Linked DNA regions of Homo sapiens: region 2 is linked to region 1. The links are contacts of gene promoters, found by promoter capture Hi-C in human tissues and cell types (Jung and others, 2019). All regions are on one chromosome and are shown on one strand. The core of a region is centred on a gene start or on the middle of the fragment in contact, and the rest is flanking DNA. Distances in the headings are between cores, read along the strand shown. Region 1 holds the start of PDYN (prodynorphin). Region 2 has its middle 48 kb from the start of LINC03086.

Region 1 (6,868 bases), core at 1,854-4,353:
TTGCCCACCTCGAGATCTGCAGTAGAAACTGGTCATGCACGGAGGGTGTGCAGGGAAGGGAGCATTCTAGAGCTTTGGAATGAGCCCTGACATCTGTATAAAAGCTAGCAGCATCCTCCTGTCTTCAGAATGACTCAGGTGCTCAGAGAGGCGAAGTATCCATCAGTTGTCACACAGTGAGGAAGCAGTGGCGTCGGGATCTAAGCTGAAGTGAGCCTGGCTGAGCCATGGTACCCACCCCCGGGACTGCTGCCCACAGGGCCAGCACCATGATTGGTGCATCACTGAGCCCAGGAGAGGGTGAGCTTTATGGCAAGGTTCTCCAGGACTAAGGGGGAAGGCTGCTCCTGGCCTTCTATGTGTGTGTGTGTGTGTGTGTGTGTGTGTGTGTGTGTAAAGGAGGCTGCGGAAGGAGAGGAAAGGCAAATGCAGGAACTATTTGCTCTTGAGGCAACAGTAGACTCAGGGGGTGAAGGATATCAGACATCAATGGCTTAATGAGGATTATCCATGAGTGTCTCTACTCTCACTGCCCCAACTTCCCTCTGGTGAATAACAGTCAGGAGAGGCCCCTGTCCTCTGCTCTTCCAGTGCTTGCTGACTTCCAGCCACGGGAGCCATTGTACTCCCTCTCTAAGAGTCTCTGTGTATTCGAAGGTTATTACCAAGAGCTTATAGAGGCAGAGGTTAGGAGGAGAAGGAGGAAATGAAAAATGAGGAAAGAGAGCAGTTGGAGTGAGGCTTTGGCCTTGGGGATGAAGTAGACGCTCACTCCTGGGCTCCCAGATTCCCAGGGTGGCAATGAATAGACTCCACTCATGTCCTCTGGCCACCATGCAAGAAGCCAGCCTGAGATGTGGCCAAGTGCTTGGTGACCCTGCGCACTGGCTATCACCAACTGGGCAGGGGCTTCCACATAGGGCACCAGGAGTCGCTTGCACCCGCCAGTCAGACCCCTTGTGCTGCCTCGGGAAGAGGAGACAGGGAGGAGAAGGAAAGTGAGGCTGTGGGTCCAGAGGGGAGTGTGGTGGGGCTGCAGCTTCAGGATCTGAGGGATGGGTCTCGGTTCTTCCTCCCTCCCTGGGTGGCTGGGGCCTCTCTGAACTTCTGCTGCCTTCTCCATCTGAGGACGCATTGTGAGATCCACACCACAGGTTTTCTTGTTGTGAGGATGTGATGGAATGTGGAAATGTCTGAGGCATAATAGGTGTTCAGCAAACAGCCCCTTCTACCCTCCTCCTTATGTGAGAGTTTAACGAGCCAGGTGCAGGGAGAGGAGGATGCCCAGGAGAACCTGCTGCATCAAAGCTGGAGGGATGTGGTTTATCAGGAATGATGGGAGCAGAACATCCGCTCCGTACTGGCTGCTTTAAGTGCTATTGACACATCCTCCTTTCACCCTCACAAGAGCCCAAGAGCCCCATGATACTGTTGTCCCCACTGTACAGATGAGCAATCAGAGGTTGAAGTTGGCAGCTTATCCAAGGTCTCTCCGATGGTGAGTGGCAGACCTGAGAGTCAAACTCACATCTTAAATGTCATTAAGCACAGCCTGTGTATGGAGAGGCTGAGTCCCAGAGAAGAAAACTGACCCCACCCCTCAGTGTGGGCAGATTCAAGCCTGGGGAGAGGCAAGGGAGGGGGCAGAAACTTGGAGGGTAGATGGACCTGACTTTAGGTTCTAGCTGGATGACTTACTTGCTGTGTGTCTCTAGGAACTTGGAGGGTAGATGGACCTGACTTTAGGTTCTAGCTGGATGACTTACTTGCTGTGTGTCTCTAGGAACTTGGAGGATAGATGGACCTGACTTTAGGTTCTAGCTGGATGACTTACTTGCTGTGTGTCTCTAGGAAAGTTTCTCAGCTCTCAAACCTCTGTTTTCTCATCTGCAAGATGGGGATAATATTAACCAACTGGCTAGGTCATGAGGATTAAATCTGACAACTCTACCTAACCGCCTGGTGCAGCCAGGTGCCCACAAAATGGGCGGCCCTGCCAGACTTCTGAAATAGTTGTGCCTCCCACCACAAACTGTCTGCTATTGACTGAGAAGAGAAGCATGTTCTCTTCCAAACTCAAAGACCCTTATGTTCTGGAAGATCTCTGTAGCAATGAAGAGTGCCACCTTCAAGCTGCTGCTGGTCCAGGCCAAGGGTATATTGAGGTGGGTCCATCCCTCACCCAGAGTGTGTGCTGAGGCATATTGCAGCCCATATTTTGAGGGGTTTTTCCTGCTATTCATTTTGTGTTGCCGCCAGAGAAAACTAAACTGCAGCTCCTGGCTGTCGGGGAAGAGCTGTGCTTCTGCCAGGGCTAGTGTGCCTGGCACCAGCTCAGGCATGTACCAGAGCCGAATGCCGTTTGCAGGCAAATGTACACACAAAAAGATTCCAGCACACGCGTGCACCAGCCAACACAGAGTTGCCACGGCACGCAACAGCGGGCCATGCACGTGCCTGCTGACTCGGCTGTCATCTTCCGACTCTCTTCCGTGATCAGAAGACTGTCTCAGCCTCTGTCTGTCTCCACGTCTGTCTGTCTGTGGATCAGTGTGTTTTGAGTCTGACAGTCTACCTGGCTGGTTTCCTTTTTTCTTGCTCTGTCCCTCTCTCCTTGTGTTTCTACCCATCTCCCTATCTCTGCCACTCTCTGTCTCTGTTTTTCTTTCTCTTTCTCCCCTCCTTTGTATCACTCCCTAGGTCCGACATTGCCTCTTTCTCGATTTCCGATTCTCTCTGAGTCTCTCTCTCTCTCTCTCTTTCTCTAACTCTTCTGTCTCTGTCCTTCCCTGTCTTCTTTTTCCTGTGACACTCTCCTGGAAACGCATCAAAAACTGAAGTGGCCGGATTTCAAGTGACAAACAGCACTACACCCAGAATCCGCCCCCTCCCCAACACGGCTGCCTTCCTCCTCCACATCCCTGTCACGAAGAGAAGCCTATTGTGTCAGGCCCAGGGAGTTCGAGTTGAAGGGCCTGGGGGTCTGTGCTCTGACTGCTCTCAGCCACTTCCCCATTGGCTCCCAGCAGCCTGTGCTCAGCAAGGGCTGAGCGACAGGGGAGGCTCTCGTCCATAAAAGGGGGGAAGAGGCACCAGAACTGCCATTTGAAGGGGCTTTGGTGGTGTTCACAGCTGCCTCTTTGGCACCTCCTCCCAAGCCGGAGTCAAGGAGGCCCCTGAGCCTTGGACCAGCCACTGCCACCTCCGACCTGCTCGGCCAGAAGCTGCCCAGGGACAAAGCAGAGTGCAGGTAACATCCAGAGGGGGCACTGGAATTCTATCGCTTGGTTTTATTTGCTTATTCCTGGTCCTCTGGACCTAGAGATGGTGGGAGCTCGGGCTGGGGATTTTAGGTTTGGGTCTGATTATCTAGCAAAGGTGGTTACAGTTAGGAGGCTAGTTCACAAAAGCCAGACCAGTGAGAGACTGCTCTTTGGACTCTCCCTTTCTGCACAGTCCTGGCTTAAACAGGTGGTAAGCTCTCTCCCAAGAGGACCACCCTTTGGCTTTAGCTCCAGGGTCTCCTTCTTGCAGTCTCCCACACAGCAGTTCCCATGCCATTCCCAGGGTCTGGGGAAAATGGGACACCCTGGATGGGAGAAGTGAGAGGTTTCACTAATCAGGGTGATTTTAAAGGTCAATGAGTCTCACTGGACTTAGAGAACAATGGCTTGAGGACATTAATGAGATCCAAGGCTCTGGCATTTATCACATAACATGTACATCAATGTACGGCCAGGTTCGGCCTTTTCATTCTTTTCGGATTGTGTTTAATTGCTGACAGGGTGCTGGTTTGAGCGGCTTCTTTTGATGGAATTTGATACAGGTTGAAGTTTGGGGATGTTTTGTTGGAAGGGAATGGGAAAAGGGAGTGACAACAAGCCAGGAGGCCCAGGCTTAGCAGGCATTTTCTTGTCCATTTTACTTGGAAAGGACTTGTTGCTCTCCTATTAACTACAGCCAGAGGAGTCTAAGGCCAGGAGGAGGCTCAAAGGGAAAGCCATTTGCTCACTGGTCCAGAGACCCATATTCAGAAAAGTACCAAGTCTCAAAGTTTGATTCTAGCAAAAAGCTGATGAGTTTCAGGAAAAAAAAAAAAAAAAAAAAAGCCTGCTGACTACTCCAAGGTTGAAGAGTAAATTCTGCAACTGCTTACTTTTTCCTGGGTATCAAGAATCCCTCCAAGCTCTACAAACATTACTTAATTAAGTCTCCAGTCTTCCCAGGGGAAACAAGCTCTTTCGATTATTGGATCTGATTTCAATTCCCCTCCCACAGACTGAAAGTCTTCATTATCATCTTTCTTCCAAGGGTTGCTGAAATATACAAGGCTTGCCTTTCTAATTTGACAGGCATCCCAGTCGAGATCCATTGCAAAGCATTGCAGAATGTCGATCCTCTTCTGTTCTTTCTCACCCCAGGCCTCACTCCCACCCCTCTGTGGCACCTTCCTTCTCTTTTCCCCTCCTCTTCTCCCCCCAGTCCCACCACACCTTGCCTTTGTTCTATTTTTGCAGGTCATTTATCTTCAGGCTTTGAGATCTGCGTGGGGGGAGCTGTTGCAGCAGCCCAAGCCGGTGAGTTATGCTGCCTGGGGGTGGTTTGCGTTCACTGACGGGATCTCAAGCCCACTGCTTTGCCCCAGCTGAGCTAGAGGTGTGATAGGTGGCAGGCAAACCCTATGCCTCTGTTGGCAGCTGGGAGGGGGATGTCACACTGGTTCCCAAGGCTATGTGGCGGAAGGCAGCACATTTTAAGGGAGCAGGCAAAGGGATCAGCTCTGGGGCTATTTGAGAGATTTGCGATCTTAAAACACGTGGAAGGAGTTAAGGTTTCTTGAAGTAACTCCTGGGAGGCAGGAATTTTCCATCTGTCATCTACACGTGTGTCTCACAACACCTGAAACAGTGCTGGGCTGAAATCCCAGATCCTACCACTCACTTACTGTGTGACTTTGGAACAGTAGAAGTCCCTCTCTGAGTCATACTTTCTTTACCTGTATGATGAGAATAATAATAATATTCACCTCCTAAGGTTATTGCAAGTCTCCAATGGGATATAGCAAAATGCCTGGCATTCAGTAGGTGCTCAATAAATACTGGCATGACTGCTCAGATTTTCACTGTTCCGAAGTGGTGAGGTTGGACCTTTCTCTCCATCGATTATCATATCGCTGATCATCCCACTCCATCATGCTGTGTGCTATGTCCAGGAGATATGATCTAATGTCTAATATTTTCATTTGAGGGGCTGGTGCTCCTTTCCCCTCCCCATCCCAGCAGAAGACTTTTTATTTCATCTGCTGCATCAGGATCATGAAGTCTCTTTTTGATCGATACTCCCTAAATCCACCTCCCACTACCCACCTCCTTGGGTCATTCCTGCACAATTGTCGTATTTATTAGATCTCTTCCATCATTGTAAGAGAGATCAATAGTTACTGGTTCGATTTCAATGCATGCCTGACAAAGTGTGGTTACACAGCTGATTTCTCTCACTGTATTCACTCATCTCAGCCCATGAATGTTGGCTAATCTTGCTGGGTCTGACAAAGTGATAAACCTGTTTCACTGAGACAGAGCTGGCCACTGTGGTAGGCAGTGAACATCGGCTGGAGACACCCAGGTAAGCCCCAGGATCAGACCCTCGAAATGGAGTGGGGTCTGTTAGTGCTGTGAAGCGCAGCCTCATCAGTCCCTCCCAGCCTGGATCCAGACTGATGCTCCTGGCAGGAGGACGATGGCCTAGGTCCATGAGGCACATGGCTTGGCTCAGGGGGCTCCTCCGAGTCCATCCAGGTCATCCCACTGGCCAGAGCGGCTGGCCACAAGCCGCAGACATATGCACCGAGGCAATTTGTTGATGCATTGGCTTGAACTGCCATTTGGTCCCTGTCCTATTCCTGGACGATTTGATTTAACTTGACAGCGGTTTACTGAGCAGTTATTATGTGGCAGGGTCTCTTGCCCACTGGTCCCTAGGAACAAAGGGCAGACTCAGAGAGCAGCAGGAGGGAGAGAATTGGTGTTTGTGATTCACACGGTATGTCAGCATCCTGAATCAAAATCTACTCTCCCTCCCCACTTCTCTCTCTCTTATTGTGTTCACTTCCCTTCCCTTTTTTCCCTCTTCTTCCCCTCCTCCTCACCCCCTTCCCTTCTATTCCCATTTGTCCTCTCCCCATCTCTATGTCTCATCTTATTTTTTCTTCCCATATGGTCCTCCACCTCTCTCTGCTTTTTCTCGGTGTCTCGGTCTCTTTTTCTGTGTGTGCAGTTCTCACCTCTGCCATTCTTTTGGGCCCCTGTCTTTTTCTCTGTGTCTATATCTCTAACTCTCTCTTTTTACATCTCTCTCTCTATGTCTCTTCATCTCCATATCTCTCTAGCTTATCCTCTTTTTGCCTTTCTCCCCATCCCTTAATTGCACCAGATAACAAAAAGGGTGGCGGTTCCATCCAAACCTTGCTCTTGAAAAACGTTCTTTTAAATATGCAGTGAATGATCCCACCAGGACCACTGCCTGCAAGGCCGTCTTTCCCTCTGGTCTCTGCACAGCAAATGCAGCCGACCACCAAACGGGACCCTCATCCGATTCTGTGCTTTGATCTTTGCCAGGCTAAAGTGTGGGTTTACTTTCTGTTCAGAACCCGAGCCTCCTTCCCATTGATCATTCGTCTTTCGTTACGATGCTAACACCTAACAAGGGGCACCGCTTTTCCAGGTTCAGGGGCTCCCTTTGCCAACCACCTGGAGACCCACAAGGGTGAACTTTACACTTTCGAGTGTGGGGCAAAAGCTTCTGAAATGGTTTCAACGTCAGGAATGTGAGAGTTTGGGAGGTTATCCGAAAGACACTCGATACATAT
Region 2 (6,868 bases), core at 1,971-4,470, 170 kb before region 1:
ATGTACCCTGCACCCTACTAGATGCTGGGGATATGGCAGCGAACACAGTGGATAAAAATGATGCCCCTGGCATGTGGGGGGAGAGACAGACAAGAAGCATGACACGCAGGTGGGATGTCACATGGTGATGTGTCCTCTGGAGAAAAACAAAAACAAAGCCAGCAAGGAAGACAGAGGCGAGGGTGTGGCTGGGCAGACATCAGGGCAGGGGCAGGGGGAAGCAGTGCAGGAGAGTGAACAAGTGCAGGGGCCCTGGGGCAGGCCTGTGTGTCCTTGCCATAACACAGCAGCTCAGGGCAGGGTGGGGGTGTGGGGAGGCTGGAACGGCGTGAGTGAGGGGAGAGGAGAGTAGAGGATGTATGCATGGTGAGGACTCGGAGGGATGGACACCACTGCAGGCTTCCAGCCAGCAGACCTGAGGGCAAGTCTGGTCCTATCAACATGCACAGAGTGGCAGCTGTGGGTCTCTCATCTACAAACAGATCTGGGGGTCCCCTACCTCCTGAGGCCATGCTCCCTCCCATCTGCAGCCTGCCCATCTATTACTTCTCCATATTTGCTCCCTCCTCTGCAACTCACCTATGCTTTCATTCTGAGCTATGGGCAGGAGGAGGTGACCTCCTGCTCCCAGTGGTCCAGGTCCGGCAGGATGGACAGCACCATGGCTGCTGGGAGAAGGAAGATGCTGCCAGGTGGGCAGGAGGGGCCCAGGTACTGGCAATCAAAGGTCAGAGCTGGTAGCTGACTCTTGGAGCTGGAAGGACCCTTCTGGACCAGCCACCCCTACCTTTCCCCTCCAGCTTTTATTTATTTATTTAAATGATGTCTCACTCTGTCACCCAGGCTGGAGTGCAGAGGCACGATCTCAGCTCATTGTAGCCTCCGCCTCCTGGGTTCAAATGATTCTCCTGCCACAGCCTCTTGAGTAGCTGGGATTATAGATGTCTGCCACCATGCCCGGCTAATTTTTGTTTTTTTTTTTTTTATAGTAGAGATGGGGTTTCACCATGTTGGCCAGGCTGGTCTTGAACTCCAGATCTCAAATGATCCACCTGCCTCGGACTCCCAAAGTGTTGGGATTACAGGCGTGAGCTGCCACGCCCAGCCTGCCCTCTAGCTTTTAATTTGAATATTTTTGTACTACAGAGAAATTAAAAGAATCATGCAATGAATACCCTTACACCCTTCGCCAAGCCTCCCTAGTTAGCATTTTGCCACATTTGTGCTGTTCTCTTGGTAGGCAGGTATGTGGCTGGGGTAGGGCAGGGTGGGAGAGAGCGAGAGAGATATCATAAAGCTTCACCCCTAAAAACTTGGGCATGCATCCGTGTATCAAGCAGAATACTACAACAAGCGGCATTCTCCCACACAACAAAAATACTAACTAAATACCAGAATAACCAAAATGTTTAACATTGTTACAAGGCTGTCCTCATACAGCTCATATTCTAGTTCCCCAAATGTCTCGATAATGTCCTTTATAGCAGTTTTACTTTTATTCTTTTCAGTACGGGATTCCATCAAGGATCAGGCACTTCCTTTGGTTGTTACATTCCTTTAGGGTCTAATCTGGAATGAATAGTCCCCACTGTACCATCGCCCCCACCTTTTTTTTCCTTTCATGACATTGACATTTGTAAAAGAGACAGCCCAGGTGTCTTGTAGAATGTTCCTCAATTTGGGTGTGTCTGATTGTTTCCTTGTGATTAGACTTGGCTAAGCATTCTGGGCACGAGATCTGCAGAGGGGAGGCTGTGTCTCCCATTGTGTTATATAAGGAGGGGCCTCCTGCCAGTTTGTCTCATCATTGGTAATGCTAAGGTGTGATCATTTGACTAATGTGTTCCCGAAGATCTCTCCATTATAAAGCTAATCTTTCCTTTTGTACATAGTAATTCATCTGTGTGATGAATTATGATATTTGAGATATGTGAGTACCTGTTTCCTCACGAATTTTCACATAGTGATTTTAGCAGCTATTGATGCCTTGCCTGAATCAATTATTGCATTAGTAGCTGCAAATAGAGATTTTTCCCATTATCCTTTCTATGTTCTTCTGTAAAGCTTTCCTCTCCCTTCCCTCTCCCCTGCTTTCGTAGTATCATCATACACAGATTAAAAAACTATTATTATTGTTCGATGTGTTGTAAATCCATTATCATCACTGTTCTTATTTGACGCTCAAATTGTTCCAAGTTTGGCCTCCAGGTAGGGGCCCCTTCAGGTGAACTCTTATGTCCTTCCTACTTTTTAAAAACAATTTGATTGAGGTATAGTTGACACACAATGAATTGCCCATATTTTAATATACGACTTAATAAGTTTTGACATATGTGTACACGCATGAAATCGTCACCGTATTCCAGGGAGTGAACACACCCGTCACAACTAATTCTCCTCAGGTATCTTTGGTTTTTTGTTTTGTTTTGAGACAGACTGTCACTCTGTTGCCCAGGCTGGAGTGCAGTGGTGCGATCTCAGCTCACTGCAACCTCCGCTTCCTGGGTTCAACTGATTTTCATGCCTCAGCCTCCCTAGTAGCTGGGACTACAGGCGCCTGCCACCACGCCCCGCTAATTTTTGTATTTTTAGTAGAGATGGGGTTTCACCATGTTGGTTGGTCATGCTGGTCTCAAACTCCTGGCCTCAAGGGATCCACAGGCCTCGGCCTCCCCAAGTGCTGGGATTACAGGCGTGAGCCACTGCCCCCGGCCCTCCTCGGGTATCTTTGTCATATTCCCCTGCAGCCCTTCACCATCTTGAAGGAACCACTGACTTGCTTTCAGTTACTATAGATTGGTTTGCATTTTTTAGCGTTTTATGTAAATAAAATCATACTCTTTGTGTCTAGTTCCTCTCCCTCAGCATTGTTACTTTGAGACTCACCCATGTTACTGCATGTATGCCTAGTTTTCCTTTGTGTTCTTGAGTAGCATTTGGCTGTGTGGATATACCACAATTCTTTTATCCATGCATTGATATGCAGATGGACAGATGGGTTGTTTCCAGTTTGGGGCTATTATAAATAAAGATGTACTTATCTAAGTCTTTGCATGAACATGGATTTCCTTTTCTTTTGAGTAAGTACCTGGAAGTGAAATGGCTGGAGTTTATGGTTAATTTTTAAGAAATTGCTGAAGTGTTTCAAAAGTGGTAATACCATTTTCCATCCTACCAACAGGGCATAAGAGTTCCAGTTCTTCCTCCTACTTACCAACATAGGTGTGTAGCAAGTAGCACCTTATTGGAGATTTAATTTGATTTTTTTTTTTTTTTTTTTTTGAGACGGAGTCTTGCTCTGTCACCCAGGCTAGAGTGCAGTGGTGTGATCTCGGCTCACTGAAACCTCTGCCTGCCAGGTTCCAGCAATTCTCCTGCCTCAGCCTCCTGGGTAGCTGGGTTTACAGGTGCATGCCACCACGCCCAGCTAATTTTTGTATTTTTAGTAGAGGCGGGGTTTTACCATGTTGGCCAGGCTTGTCTGCAATTCCTGCCCTCAGGTGATCCACCCATCTCGGCCTCCCAAAGTGCTGGGATTACAGGCGTGAGGCACTGTGCCCGGCCTAATTTGATCTTTAAATTTAAATTTAAAATGTTTACAACTTAAGTATAAAACAATTAAATTTAAATTTAAAACTTTTCAATTTAATTTTCCTTGATGGCAAATGATGTTGAGCATCTTTTTATGTGCAGTTTGCCATGCTTATGGTCTCTGGTGACATGTCTATTCAAATCTTTTGCCAGCTTGCGGGGGTGTTTTATTATTATTCAATTTTGACAGTTCTTTATATTCTTGATACAAATTCTTTATTAAATACATGCTTTGTAAAGATTTTCTCCCAGTCTGTTTTGTCTGTTTATTCTTTTAACAGTGTCCCTTGAAATGCAGAAGTTTTTAGGTTTTTTTTTTTTTTTTTGAGATGGAGTCTTGCTCTGTCTTCAAGCTGGAGTGCAGTGGCACTATCTCGGCTCACTGCAACCTCCGCCTCCTGGGTTCAAGCGACTCTCCTGCCTCAGCCTCCTGAGTAGCTGGGAGTACAGGTACGTGCCACCACGACCAGCTAATTTTTGTATTTTTAGTACAGATGGAGTTTCACCATGTTGTCCAGGATAGTCTTGATCTCTTGACCTCGTGATCTGCCTGCCTCAGCCTCTCAAAGTGCTGGGATTACAGGCGTGAGCCACTGCGCCCGGCCGAAATACAGAAGTTTTAAATTTTGATGTGGTTCAATTTATCCATTTGTTCTTTTATAAATTGTGCTTTTGCTGTCATCTAAGAGATATCTGCCAGTGCCATCGGGATTTTCTTGTATGTTTTCTCCTAGAAGTTTTGTCATTTTATATTTAAATCTTTGATCCACTTCGATTTAACTTTTGTATACAGTGTGAGGCATATATTGAGTTTATTTTTTTAAATATAGTTATCTGGTTATTCTAGCACCATTTGTTAAAAACGCTAGCCTTTTTCCACAGCACTGCCTTTGTAACTTTGTCAAAAATCAGTTGTCTAAATACATGTGGATCTAATTTTGGACTCACTATTCTTGTCTGTTGATCTATATGCCTATCTTTATGCCAATACCATGCTGTTCTGATTAATGTAGCTTCATAATACTTCTTCAAATCAGATAGTGTTAGCCCTCTAACTGTTCTTTTTTAGAGTTGTTTTGACCATTTTAGGCCCCTTTACTTTTTTATATGAGTTTTAAAATCAGCTTGTCGACTCCTACAAAAAGAGCCTGCTGAGATTTTGGTGGGGATTCCAGTGAATCTATAGGTGAGTTCAGAGAGAATTGCCATCTTAATGACTTTGAGTTTTCCGGCCCACGAACAAACTATGATTAATTCTTGTTATTCATGGTAGTTATGTTTTGTAAAGTGTCCACGAACACTGAATTAGCAAATACTGAACCATTGATCCCAGGGGAAGTACAGAGTGCAGTTCCTGTGAGCCTCTGGCTCCAACATTCTTGTCCATTGATAATACATTACCTTGCTTTGTGTGCATTTCTCTTTAAAGGCACCTTATGTAATAGCTATTTTCTTTTTTTTTTTTTTTTGAGTGCGATGGCATGATCTTAGCTCACTGCAGCCTCCACCTCCCAGGTTCAAGCGATTCTCCTACCTCAGCCTCCTGAGTAGCTGGGATTACAGGCGTGCACCACCATGCCCAGCTAAGTTTTGTATTATTAGTAGAGATGGGGTTTCACCATGTTGGTCAGGCTGGTCTCAAACTCCTGACCTCAGGTGATCCACCCACCTCGGCCTCCCAAAGTGCTGGGATTATAGGCGTGAGTCACCGTGCCTGGCCTATAGTAGCCACTGTTGATTCATCCACATTCAGCTCACATCCAACAGCACCATAATTCACCCCTGAACGGAGCTTTCCTAACACATGTGTCTTCTCCATGAGGCACACTGCAGCCTCCTTGTATGTGGGAACATGAGGCAGCACTTGGGCACTATATATAGGGACAGTTTAAAGTCACCAGCGAAAAGCATACATGTGAAAAACATGGCACTAAATAGACTGTGGAAAGGATCCTTGTCAACAGTTATAAGACCTGAATCAAGAAGGCAGGGAGTTGCCTTGTATGACTTCAGCTGGGAACGTGAGCATCTGGCTACTCACATTTTTGCTGCCTGTACATGTCTCTGAGTGACTGCTACAGCCCTGTGGTTAGATTTTGGGGTTACAAATAAATTTTAGTGAGTAGGTGAATTTGCAAATACAAAATAGTGAGGATCGACTTATATCTCCTCATTTATTTAAATTTCTTTAATTTTCCCAGCAATATTTTGTAGACCATGCAAATCTTTGATTTCTTTTGCCAGATTTATCCATATGTAGTTCATACTTTTTGATGATATTTTAAATGGGTATTATTTTTTCCATTTCAATTCCTGATTATTTATTGCTAGCATATGGAAATACAATTGATTGTTGTATATGGATCGTGAATCTGGCAACCTTGCCAAATTCACTTAGTTCTAATAGCTTTTTATAGATTTCATTAGATTTTCTACATAGATGATGATGTCATCTGCAAATAAAAACAGTTTTACTTCTCTTAATCTCATGCCTTTTATTTCTTTATTTCTTGACTGATGGCACTGGCTAGAAACGCTAGTACAATGTTGAATGATAAGGGCGGACATCCTTATTCCTGATGTTAGGGGGAAGTTACTCAGTCTTCTACCGTTAGTATGATGTTAGCTGTAGTATTTTCATAAATGCCCAAGGAAGGGCAAACTTGGAAGGAGTTTGGACTTTGTTGGAAAAGCTGTAGTTCAGCCACTGGATAGCGGAGAAGTTTGATGGTGTAGTCAGGCTGGAGCTGGCCTGGAGCTGCTGGGTGAGCAGTAGGCCCTCCAGAGTGTGGTCAAGGAGACAAGGCCTTCAGCAACCACTGTCATGGGCACGCAGCATCATGGACATGCAGTGGGAGTCCAGGCACCAGTGGGAGCAAGAAGTCTTTAGACAATCAGGGCTGAACATGAGCTTGCTCTGCTGCTGGGGATGCGAGACCCCAGCCACAGTCAACTGTGTGCAGGCCACATGAGGGCTTTGGTTTTACGAGGCTGTAGAAAAGTTACCACTAGACTGAGGCTGCAGAGTCGCACAGAAATTGTGTTCTGGGCCTATGGCTAGGGTAGGAATCCACTGCAGACGCCTCCCCCCTCCCCCATGCAGGATATTGTAGGGAGCCTTTTCCTCCTGCAATGTCCTTCCAGCGTCCTCCTAGTGAGGGCTGTAAACCATGCCTAGTGGAATTCTGTTGCTTACCATAGAACATATATTGAAGGAGTGCTTGGAACTGACACAGATGGGCAGAACTTGCTATTTTAACTGTTCTCCAAAGCTGGC

Evidence for each region. The method cuts DNA at HindIII sites, captures the fragments that hold promoters and counts their contacts. A contact is called where the count stands out against the background at its distance.
Region 2: a fragment that was not itself captured here is called in contact with the fragment with the promoter of PDYN in region 1 in 1 of the 25 tissues and cell types used here (dorsolateral prefrontal cortex).

What each region holds. Positions count from the first base shown.
Region 1 is chr20:1,990,293-1,997,160 of GRCh38, reverse strand. PDYN (prodynorphin) reads left to right here and starts at 3,103. Exons shown (of 4, transcript NM_024411.5): 1 at 3,103-3,250; 2 at 4,518-4,577. All of the region lies in intron 3 of PDYN-AS1 (PDYN antisense RNA 1), which reads right to left. RefSeq lists an enhancer at 2,733-3,563. The HindIII fragment of the contact is 29,966 bases long and covers 1-6,868 here.
Region 2 is chr20:2,155,605-2,162,472 of GRCh38, reverse strand. No RefSeq gene overlaps it. Among named protein-coding and RNA genes, the nearest start is that of LINC03086, 48 kb to the left of the region's middle. The HindIII fragment of the contact is 3,078 bases long and covers 1,682-4,759 here.